4 separate regions of the Homo sapiens genome follow, and all the other regions are linked to region 1. Evidence: promoter capture Hi-C in 16 types of primary human blood cells and fetal thymus (Javierre and others, 2016). All regions are on one chromosome and are shown on one strand. The core of a region is centred on a gene start or on the middle of the fragment in contact, and the rest is flanking DNA. Distances in the headings are between cores, read along the strand shown.

Region 1 (2,700 bases), core at 140-2,639:
GCAGTCTTTGACCTGCCATGCCGGGAGCCACATCTCGTGACCAGGTCCTGGCCTTCCACGCTGGCCAGACGCCTGCATCCAAGACGTCCTGGTCCCTCTGACTGCACAGTGTGACAGCCACCACCCAGCCATGCCCTGTACTCCTGGATGTGATTTGCTAATTAGGGTCAATGGGGTAAGATGCCCAATTAAATATGAATTTCAGATAAACAATTTTTAGCATAAGTATGTCCCAAACATTGGTAAAAATGACTATTTGTTGTTTATCTGAGATTCAGATCAAACTGGGCATCTTGGACATTTTATTTGCTCAACTAGAAATTCATGAGTGCCTAAGGAGCTCAAGGGACATTCCAGACCCCCCAAATCTGTGTCGGACACAGGGGCAGTCACAATGGGGTGCAGTGGTTGTACCTGGTGACTCAGGACATTCGTCTACCTCCTCATGTCCCCCCTGCCTCTAGCACCACAGTGTCATGCCCTACCCTCCAGGGGGCCCAGAAAGCAGTGCTTTTGCCCAGGGCCATTGTCCCCTAGATAGAGGGTTCAGCCCAAGGAGGGCAGCCCTGATTCCCAAGCCTCCTGCAGCACTGACTCTCCACTGCAGCAGGCCTGGGGTTTCTGGCCATGGCTCGCCTTTGGCTCACCTCTCCAGAAGGTCTCTGGAAGCTTCTTCCCCACAGGGTCCTCCCTTCCACTGTAACCTTCCCTGGTTCTGGGAAACAAACTTGAGAGGCCCAGGCGCACCCCACCTCTTCTCTTTAGGTCTCCACAGCTTTTCCTCTGCCTCGTCCCCAAGGGGATCACTCTGGCCTTTCCCCTCTCCAGTGACCCTCTCCACACCCTCCCGGCTTCCCCCTTCCTCTGAGCACCCCAGATGCCAAAGGACAAGGTGAGGGAGCCTTTGGAGAAATGTTGCCTGACGTCACTGGTCCCCCACGCTCGGGGGACCCACACGGCCCGCCCTGCAGGCAGCCCCCTCCCCGCAGGCAGCCCCCTCCCCGCAGGCCGCCCCCTCCCCACCTCACCTCACAGCTGCAGGGGTCGGGGCTCGGAAGTGCTGGGGGCAGTTCAGGTTGAAGGCTGGGCAGCGTGCACTTCTCCCCCAGCCTCCTGGGGCCCGGGCATCACCGGAAGCGGAGTTTGTTCCCACTTTGTATCAGTCGCAAAGAAAGAGCACCCAATTGGACAAAAGGCAAGCAGGCTGCGTTCCTGGCCCGGAGTGGAGAAGAGTGAGCCCCTGCCCTGTCAGGGAAGCTGAGGCTGGGGGTTGTGAGGAGTCCCGTGCCGGGAGGAGGCTGCAGGAGCGCCTCAATGCACCTCTTGATACCACGCATGCTTAGCAAGGCCTGGGGACTGTCCTCTCGGGCAGGACTTCCGCCTTGTAATGACATGTCGCTGATTTAAAGGGAACTGGGGGTCACCAGCTCTGGTTTGTGCAAGTCTGGTGCGTTCTTATCTCCCTTGTATTTGGCAGGGGATCCTAAACCTCTCCTGGTATGTTGAGACATCTGGAGCTCATTAAGCCTCGGCGCCTGTAGATAAAGAGATTAAAGGAAAAAAGAAAAGAAATCCCGCCCTGGGGCAGCTGGGGTAGGATTAGCCTGGAGGCCACGCCTCTGCAGGGTCTCCCATAGGCTGGGCCAGCCTCTGCCCTCCCTGCTTCCAGAACCCCGGACGCTGATGGCCTGTGGCGGCCACTCTCCGCCCACCCCGGAGCCCAGCCTAGCGGGGAGAAGGCCGCCGGCCCGTTCGAATGTCCCTCTGCTTCCAGGGTCAGCCTGCACGCCACTCTCACAGAGGCCAGACGGGCGGTGGGGCGGGGACTCAGTTCATCCTCTGCCTGAGGAGCAGGTCTCGGGTGCGACTGAGCTTTTCACCCTTTGAGAGGAGTCAGGGACACGCAGCGTCTCCAGCAAGCTGGTGGCAGAAACTGATGGAGCATCCTAATCACAAAATAGGAAGAGAGTTTGCAAAATAGGAGCATTTACCAGAAGCCTCTCTCTCTCCCTCCCTCCCTCCCTCCCTCTCTCTCTCTCTCCCTCTCTCTCTCTCTCTCTCTCTCTCTCTCTCTCTCTCTCTCTCTCTCTCTCTCTCTCTCTCTCTCTCTCTCTCTCTCTCCCTCCCTCCCTCTCTCCCTCTCTCTCTCCCTCCCTCCCTCTCTCTCTCCCTCCCTCCCTCTCTCCCTCCCTCCCTCTCTCTCTCTCTGTGTGTCTCTCAAGTAGAAGTGGGGTCTCTATGTTGCCCAGGCTGCTCTCGAACTCCGAGGCTCAAGCGATCCTCCTGCCTCAGCCTCCCAAAGTGCTGCGATTACAGGTGTGAACTACTGGGCCCAGCCCCAGGCCCTCTTACAGGAGTGGGCTGCCTAGAAACATTCCAGTGCCATATCCCACTCCACTCCGGGTGCAGGGACAGGACCCCTGCCACCCCCAACCCAGGCCCAAAAGGAGGGGCCAGGAGGGGAGGGGCCACCAAGGCAGGTGAGCTGCTTAAGAGGAGCGAGGGCTGTGGACAGTCCTGCGGACTGCAGGAGGGGCCAGCAGGATCAATATCCAGCTTCTCTCTCCTGCTGGGCTCCTGCTGGGGCTCCCTGTTGGTCACCCCAAAACCTACTGTCTCTCATCGCTGCCGGGGCTGGCCAGGCTCAGCTGCTGGTTCTGCCTTGGGGCACCTCCTAGGTGGAGTCAGGGTGGCTGAAGG
Region 2 (2,700 bases), core at 18-2,517, 330 kb after region 1:
TAATTTTCTATCTCCCTTACTCAAGTAATTGGGAGTGCTCCTAGTGTTACCAGAGACCCAGCAGTTCCCAATTTCGAATTTTTCCGTATTCACATTTCTTGACTTGCTATGATTTTACATCACAGATTACATCCTTCATTTGAAGAGACTCTAATGGAAGGCTGCCATGGAAACTCTCTCATGTGGCTGACCTCCTACCTCACTTGCTCTTTCTGAATGAAGTTCCCACTTTTGCCTGCCTTAATGAAAGTAATGCTCCCCAAACTCAAGCCCAGGGCTGCGAATTGGAAGCAGCTGGGGCTACTGTTTCTGGGTGCTGGTGTGAATGGCAGGATGTGAACACCAGCCTGTGACGGGCAAAAAGATGGACACACAGGCAGAGCCTGACAGGTGCTGGTGGTCCTATCTGGTCCTGAGTTGCTGGGACCCTCCTTGCCCACTGCCCCTAGAATGGACTTTGGCCTCAGGTTCGAAGTGTTCAGATGTGACTGAGATGAGCCTTTTCCCCATGCCTCAGGAATAGCGAAGAAACTCTATCTGGAAGGTTCCCCAGGCTTCCCCACCCAGCAGCCTCTGGTATTAGACCAGGCAGTGGCTGGCCAGGATGGTGGGGACAGAAGGGAGACAAAGGTGAGCAGTGGGTGGGGTCACATCCTCCCTGACATTGAATAGACAACATGGGGAGGAAGGATGAGTGATCTTTAGAATGTTCATGGAAAATGCATATTGGGAAAAAGAATGCATGAATTTCAAATTGTTTTGCAACAAAATAAACTTGTACTAACTTGTGAAAACACGTCCGAACAGGATCTAGTTTGAGGCCCTAAGAAGTATAAGACAACAGTTTGAACAGAGCTCCTATCAGACACATGAATTCTGCTAAAATTGAAACCAGAACAAACATGCAATTGATGGTGAAGCTTGGCTGGAAACATGGTGAAATCATTGATGATTTATTGAAAGTTTATAGGGACAATGCCTCAAAGAAATCAGCAATTTAAGTAAGTGGATAACTCATTGGAAGAAGAGAAGAGATGATGTTGGAGAGGAAGTCCACAGCAGCAGGCCAGCCACATCAGTCTGTGAGGAAACAATTCATCTTGTTTGTGCCCTAATTTAAGAGGACTGATTAATAGCAGCAGAAACAATAGCCAACGCTGTAGGTATCCCAAGGTGTTCAGCTTACACAATTCTGACTGAAATTAAAGTTGAGTAAACTGTCCACTCGGTGGGTGCCAAAACTTTCTCCCAGCTCAGCTGCAGATAAGAGAAAAGCGTTCTATGGCCATTTTAAACAAGTGGAATCAAGATCCTGAAGCATTTCTTCATATAATTATAGCCGGAGATGAAATGTGGCTTAACCAGTACACTCCTGAAGGCAAAGCACAAGCAAAGCAATGACTACCTAGAGGTGGGCGTGGTCCCATCAGAGTAAAAGCAGACATGTCAAGGGCAAAGGTCGTGGCAACCGTTTTGTGAATGCTCAAGGCATCTTGCTTATTGACTTTCTGGAGGGCCAAAGAACAGTAACATCTTATTATGAGAGTGTATAGAGAAAGTCAGCCAACGATTTAGCAGGAAAACACCCAGGAAATCGTCACCCCGGAAAGCTTCACCAGAGAGCCCTTCTCCACCATGACAATGCTCCTGCTCATTCCTCTCATCAAACAAGGCCAGTTTTGTGAGAGTTTCAATGGGAAATCACTAGGCATACACCTTCCAGGCCTGATTTGGTTACTTCTGTTTTATAATTTTAAAAAATCTTTAAAGGGCACCCACTTTTCTTCAGTTAATAACGTCACAAAGACTGAAGTGGCATGGTTAAATTCCCAGGGTGCCCAATTCTTTAGGGATGAACTGAATGGCTGGTACCATTACTTGCAGAAGCGTCTCGACCTTGATGGAGCTCATGCTGAGAAATAAAACATTTTTTAATTTTTATCTTTTAATTCAATTTTTTCGTGAACTTTTGAAGTCCCCTTGTATTTGTTTTTGGTGGAACTTTGAGTCTGATTTCTCAGCTCCCCATGGATGGCTGCATCTTAACAGAGAAATGAACGCCATTTACCCTGATGCTCTCTACTTGGCCTAAGTTTCAGATGTTGAACACACACGTGTGGGAATTTATGAATCTGTGCACCTGTGCCAGCTGGTGGGTGAAGTCTAAGTTTCTTCAACACAATTAGTTATCTTCTGCCTCCTGGAATCTGGTAGGAAAGGTTGAGGAAAAGCAGCCATCCACAGCGCCTCCACCACTGGAATGGGGGCAGCCCTAACGTGTGCCCCACTGCCCCCCATGCTGAGGAGTCCTTCACTCCAGGGATGTCTTCACCCCAATCATTCAGACTCCCCCAGTGTTCCTGCGTCACCTGAAAGGTCGGAAGCATCTCAGCACATACTCTCCATGAGTGGTACTTAGGCCTCCCTCCCCATCAATACTGAAGCCCTCAGAGGCAGAGGGGAGTCAAGGAAAAGAGTGGCCATCAGCAATAAATGAGTTACAAGGTTTGATTTCAAAGAGAAAAACTTGTCACCAAAATCACTACTCAGGAGATCTGGACTTCCTCTGAATGTGAGTTAAAGAACCCTTGAGGGTTAAGAGCCAACTGCACCTGATCCCCACTCTCCCATCCCAAGACCCTGGGAAGTCAAACCAAGAGGTAATCAACAGAAAACAAGTTTAATGCAACAGGTGACAAC
Region 3 (2,700 bases), core at 174-2,673, 300 kb after region 1:
CCCATCCATCCATCCACCCAACCATCCCCAACCCATCCTCCATTCATCCCCCACCCATCCACCCATCCATCCTCCACCCATTTCCCATCCATCCCCCATCCATCCAACCATCCATCCCCCATCCATCCCATATTCATCCCCCACTCATCCATCTACCCATCCATCCACCCATCCATCCATCCATCCACCTATCCATCCATCTATGCATCCATCCCCCACCCATCCTCCATTCATCCCCAACTTATCCACCCATACATCCTTCACCCATTTCCTATCCATCTCTTACCATCCATCCATCCATCCCATATTCATCCCCCACTAATCCATCTACCCATCCATCCACCCATCCACTCATGCATCCACCCATCCATCTCCCATTCATTTACCCATCCATCCCCCACCCATCTATCCATCCATCCCCTATCCATCGCCTATTCATCCCCCATTCATCCATCCCCCATCCATCCATCCATCAACTCATCCATCTATACAACCACCCATTGGGACATCACAGGACAGAGAAACCAGAGAGGCTGGTATACCTGGAAGGACTGTGGAGAGGGGCACCTTAGTGGGTCTCACAGCATGGGGAAGATGTGGGACATCAGATGGGAGACCAGGCAATGTGGTCATTGAGCGGTATGGCATAGGCAGGCATGCGTGTGGAACAGGGTGTCGTGGGGGGCACGCAGTAAAGAGCAGACAACACAGTCAGGCCAGGAGGCTGGAGGGTGAGCAGAACCTTATTGTCAGGCGCCTAAAATCAAGAAACTCAGGTTTGGTCTAAAGGCCATTAGTGGGAAGGGGCTGGCAGTGATGAGGGGCCACTCCTGGGCCCAACCTTGTCAGCCTGAGAGTGGTCTAGCTGGCCCATGCTACCCTCACCTGACACCTGCTTCCTACCTCTGGTTTCTACTTTGCAGGTGTGTATCAGGTGTACACAGACCAGGTAGAGGTCTGTGGAGAGGGCTGCAGGCCAGGCTGCAGGGAAGGGGTGCCAGGCGGGGCTAGAGCAACAAGGGCAGAGGCTACACTGAACCTGGGTCTTAAGGGTCCCCCAGGCTGGGGCTGGGTGGCCTATGTGAACCCCAGAGGCACAGCCAGGACATGGGGGCTCATCAGAGGGGCAGTCTGAGCTCAGCAGGAAAGGCCTTCTCTGTCAGAGCTGTCCCAGGACCACTGGACATGGCTGAGGAACAGTGAGTTCCCCAGTGTTGGAGGTGTGCAAGCAGAGGCCTGGCCATCGTCCTCAGACAGAGCTCCCAGATCCAGCTCCCTGCCCGTCTGCCATGTTCCTGCCAGCTGCCTCCCCACTGGGCCCTTTACCACGTTCCTGACTCACACGGCCGGTTCTGCCACCGCCCAGAAGCCGGTGCCCAAGGGCCTGGGTATAAATCCTTGATGTGAGGCTGGCTACCTCTCATCACTTCTGAGCACGGAGCAATGGCCTCTCGCTGGGCTGTGCAGCTGCTGCTCGTGGCAGCCTGGAGCATGGGCTGTGGTGAGTGGGCCGCAGGCTGGTGGGGACCCTGCCTCTGAGCTTGTCTGCCCACCTCCTAGGGGGATGGGGCTGTTGGGGGTGCTTTGTGGCTGAGAGCCTCCTTAGGCCTCCATGAGGCTCACCCTCCTCATTCTCAGTGAGCCTCCTGGGTCCCAGAGCCCAGCTTCACCCTGGGACAGGGGTCACGGCTCCACTCTGCAGGAAGGGAGACTGAGGCTTGGTGGAGGGATGCAGCATTCAAGTCTGTGGCTCAGCTCAGTTAGAGAAAGCTGCCAGAGAGGCCCCTTGAAGGGCTGCCCGGGGCCTTGAAAGATGTCAGCGAGACTCCTTCAGCCCCTGCCTCCTGGTTCCAGGATGAGGCCACCGAGGTCAGGTGATGAGGTTCTGCCCCCATCCCTCACCCAGGTGAGGCCCTCAAGTGCTACACCTGCAAGGAGCCCATGACCAGTGCTTCCTGCAGGACCATTACCCGCTGCAAGCCAGAGGACACAGCCTGCATGACCACGCTGGTGACGGTGGAGGCAGGTGAGGCCAGGCCCCACGGCAGCCCTGGGTGCACTGGAGTCAGGGCCACCTCCCCCAAGTGCCTCCCTCCTTTGCTGGTGCTCCTCCCGGCCCAAAAGGCAGCAGGTGGGATGGGCAGAACAGGCTGCCACACCTTGGCAGGGGTGCCTTCCACGAGGGTGGCACAGCCCCCTCAGAGACCCAGTCCTGGGGCACCAGGCGCTGGAGGTGGGTGGGGCTTAATGGCCGGGGTACCCTGGGGGGCTCAAACCCCAGCTCTGACACAGACCCACTGGGTGGTGTTGCCACAGCCTCTGGGCTCGGGCTCCCATCTCAGCGCAGGCACTTCAGAGGTCTGACAAGGCCTAATAATTCATGAACAGGTCACAGTCAGAGGAGGGCTGGGCCCTGGGTGGCTTCACAGATGTGGACTATTGGGAACAGGGATCACAGGGAGGGTGAGGTCAGGCGACGGCGGCTGGGAGCAGTGCAGCAGCAGGCAGGCGCTGCAGGGGAGTGAGGGTTCTGACACTGGCCCACCCTGCAGAGTACCCCTTCAACCAGAGCCCCGTGGTGACCCGCTCCTGCTCCAGCTCCTGTGTGGCCACCGACCCCGACAGCATCGGGGCCGCCCACCTGATCTTCTGCTGCTTCCGAGACCTCTGCAACTCGGAACTCTGAACCCAGGGCGGCAG
Region 4 (2,700 bases), core at 50-2,549, 400 kb after region 1:
TCCAGACCGAACCAATGTTCATCTTGCACATGTTGGTTGATGTCTCATGTCTCCCTAAAATGTATAAAACCAAACTGTGGTCTGACCACCTTGGGCACATGTCGTCAGGACCTCCTGAGCCTGTATCATGGGTGTGTGTCCTCAACCTTGGCAAAATAAACTTTCTAAATTAACTGAGACCTGTCTCAGGTTTTTGAGGTTCACAATTAATAGTCAATGACATGAGAGAGAAGCCCTCCTCCTCTCCCGGTTGTGGACCTTTCTGTATTATCTTGCACCCAACTCAGACCAGAAGGCACAGAAGACCCCATGACTCTTCTACCCTCTGTGTTCAATATGCCTCTCCCGAAAGGAACACAGCCCCACCTAACTGGATGTGTGGGCCTGTGTGGACAGTGTTGAAGCCCCACTAAGCTTCCCAGACGTTATCTATATAAATGACCCCTAAACCTCTCCACTTGGGAGCACCAACTTCCATTCTTTGGAATCTGTGTACCCAGGTGGCCTTTCTCAAGCATTGTGTGCAAATAAATTACATTTAACCATATTCCATATTTCCTGATCTTTTTAAGGTTGACAGGAGCCACCGGCACCCTCACGTAGCCGCATCGTCACCCTAGACAAGCTGACTGCAGGCTTGGCTCAGAGGTCAGCTCTGCTGGACACAGGGAGGGGCAGGCAGAGGCTGGGTCTGATGTGCAGCTGCAGGGCCAGTGGAAAGGGGCTGCCTCACGAGGAACTGTTTTCTCCCCACTTCCCTTCTGAGGTCCTGGGATGAGCCTTGAGCAGATGCCCCCATTCCACCAGCCTCCCCTTCTTCTCACACCCATTTCTCTTCCTCCTGCCCAGGTCTCAGATGCCAAAGGCTTTGCTGCCTGCAGAGGGCAGGGGAGGTGTCCAGGGCTTTGCAGGCCATAAGGATGGCCCAGATGCCGGCCCTTCCCTGGGTGGGAGAGCCACCTGCCCACCTTTCCCCAAGGCTACTGCCCAGGCTCTCCCTTGGCTGGCAGCCTCCTCCCAGACACGAGTGGGCCAGGTGGTCCTCTCTCTTAAGGGGGTGGCCAAAGCCCAGATCTTGCCCATGTGGTGCTGCAGTTCCCCTGGGGTCCCTGAGGGAAGCCAGGGACTCTGTGGGCTCCAAGCCCTGGGCTTGGATGCCATGCCGTCCTTACAGCCATCTGCAGGGCAGGAAGGCCTGGCCAGGCTGGGGATGGGGAGAAATCTGGACTTGGGGGTGGTGGTGGCAGCTGCTGTCACCTCTTCATTGCAGGTGGGGGCTGAGCTCAGTGGGCAGGGGCCGCTGAAGACACACAGCTAGGGAGAGGGGACGCTAGAACTGAGCCCAAATCTGTGGGACCAGGAGCTGGGTTCATCCTCCCGTGACCCTGACTCTTGGTGAGGAGACACCCTGAACTGGGCAGGGTGGCAACCATGACAGGCATGGGGAGGTGGCAGGTCCCCAGGCTCACCTGCTCCTTTGCACAGAGGGGCCTCTGGCCTGTGGACAGGGTTGCCCTCCCAAGGCTCAGCCCTGCCACCTGCAACCCACTTTACCCAGAATAAGTAAGTAACACTGCCCATTTTTCAGGGCAATAAATTTTAATAAAGAGTTGTATTTTCCCCTGCAAGACACAGTGTGAAGGCTGTCTCTTCAGTGACAGGGTTCACTGCAACTCAGTCTCACTTCCATCATGAGCTGTCTCATGAGGTCTCTCATAAACCTCTCTCTCTCTCTCTCTCCCTGGTTCCAAAAATGAAGCCGCCAGCTCTCACCGTACCTTGCTGTTGAACTGAATGACAGACATTATTCAAAACCCCCACCCCAGGGCTCAAGATTAGGGGAGCAGGACAGAATTCAGGGCAGCTTCTAAGAGGGAGGAGCCCCAGCTGGGAGGCCTTGGAGGATTCTTGTGTGACAGGGGGCATACCGGGGGTCTCTGAGGCCCCTCATGGGTGCTGAATGCTCTGGCCTCCCCAGGGCTCAGCCCAGCCCCTGCTCTGTGGGACCCTGGGGCCAGGGTCTCCCTCTGGCAAGTGGTCTCAGGCCTTCTGCCCACCACCCTTGCCAGTGGCCTCATCACAGTTTATTCCTAAAACCAGAGTCTGCTCCTCACTGGACCTAAAGCCTCAAACTTCAGCACCCCTCCCGTGCCCCATGACCCCTTCAGCCTACACACAAGCTTTCTGTTTGTGGTGGGGTCCCTGCCCCTCACAGAGGGTCACCAATGAGGGTCGCTTATGTAAGAGCAGGGCTGTGTCCACGGCTTGCAAAGGACAGAAGTCGAAAGAACTGCTTTATTGCAGCTCAACAAGGGCTTATGGGGGTTTCTTACTGACTGAATTTTATTTGCTGACATTAAATGGTGCAGTGGGCTGGTGAGCCTGGCTTCCCGGTTCATAAATGGGATCAAAATGTCACTATGATTCCGTTAAAACCTTTAAAAAGGATGGTTGTGTCACCCAGATCTAGTTTGTAAACCTGCTCCAGCTGCTGTGTGTCTCTTGGGGCCAAGTGGCCCGCCCTGTCCTCCCTTTTCTCTGCTGGTGCTGGCCCTCCATCCCCAGTCTGCTGCTCCACCATGAGCGCTGGGCTGAGCCAGTGTTGAAGCTGTAGACATAAATCTATAGGCCGTTTGAGTATTGAAAACCAAGCAGTGCTGAGTGGAAGAAGCCTGTCTGTCCATCCACCCATTCCCCTGT

The links. Contacts are between HindIII fragments. The CHiCAGO score rates a contact against its expected background, and 5 or more counts as called.
Region 2: a fragment that was not itself captured here is called in contact with the fragment with the promoter of LY6S-AS1 in region 1 in 1 of 17 cell types (total CD4 T cells); the score reaches 5.1 in total CD4 T cells.
Region 3: the fragment with the promoter of SLURP1 here is called in contact with the fragment with the promoter of LY6S-AS1 in region 1 in 7 of 17 cell types (naive CD8 T cells, total CD8 T cells, naive CD4 T cells and 4 more); the score reaches 7.5 in naive CD8 T cells.
Region 4: a fragment that was not itself captured here is called in contact with the fragment with the promoter of LY6S-AS1 in region 1 in 2 of 17 cell types (naive CD8 T cells and total CD4 T cells); the score reaches 5.2 in naive CD8 T cells.

Annotation. Positions count from the first base shown.
Region 1 is chr8:143,037,898-143,040,597 of GRCh38, reverse strand. It overlaps LY6S-AS1 (LY6S antisense RNA 1), which reads right to left and starts at 1,389. Exons shown (of 6, transcript NR_149322.1): 1 at 1,029-1,389. RefSeq lists an enhancer at 1,166-1,717. The HindIII fragment of the contact is 8,465 bases long and covers 672-2,700 here.
Region 2 is chr8:142,703,425-142,706,124 of GRCh38, reverse strand. LY6K (lymphocyte antigen 6 family member K) reads right to left here. Exons shown (of 3, transcript NM_017527.4): 3 at 998-2,700. LNCOC1 (lncRNA associated with ovarian cancer 1) reads left to right here. Exons shown (of 3, transcript NR_038925.1): 3 at 1-2,700. Among named protein-coding and RNA genes, the nearest start is that of LY6K, 4.7 kb to the right of the region's middle. The HindIII fragment of the contact is 690 bases long and covers 923-1,612 here.
Region 3 is chr8:142,741,129-142,743,828 of GRCh38, reverse strand. SLURP1 (secreted LY6/PLAUR domain containing 1) reads left to right here and starts at 1,423. Exons shown (of 3, transcript NM_020427.3): 1 at 1,423-1,501; 2 at 1,907-2,026; 3 at 2,553-2,700. The coding sequence starts at 1,444. The coding sequence ends at 2,686. The HindIII fragment of the contact is 7,810 bases long and covers 1-2,700 here.
Region 4 is chr8:142,639,529-142,642,228 of GRCh38, reverse strand. It overlaps LOC101928087 (a long non-coding RNA gene), which reads right to left. Exons shown (of 2, transcript NR_134305.1): 2 at 1,581-1,790. Among named protein-coding and RNA genes, the nearest start is that of ARC, 26 kb to the right of the region's middle. The HindIII fragment of the contact is 1,766 bases long and covers 417-2,182 here.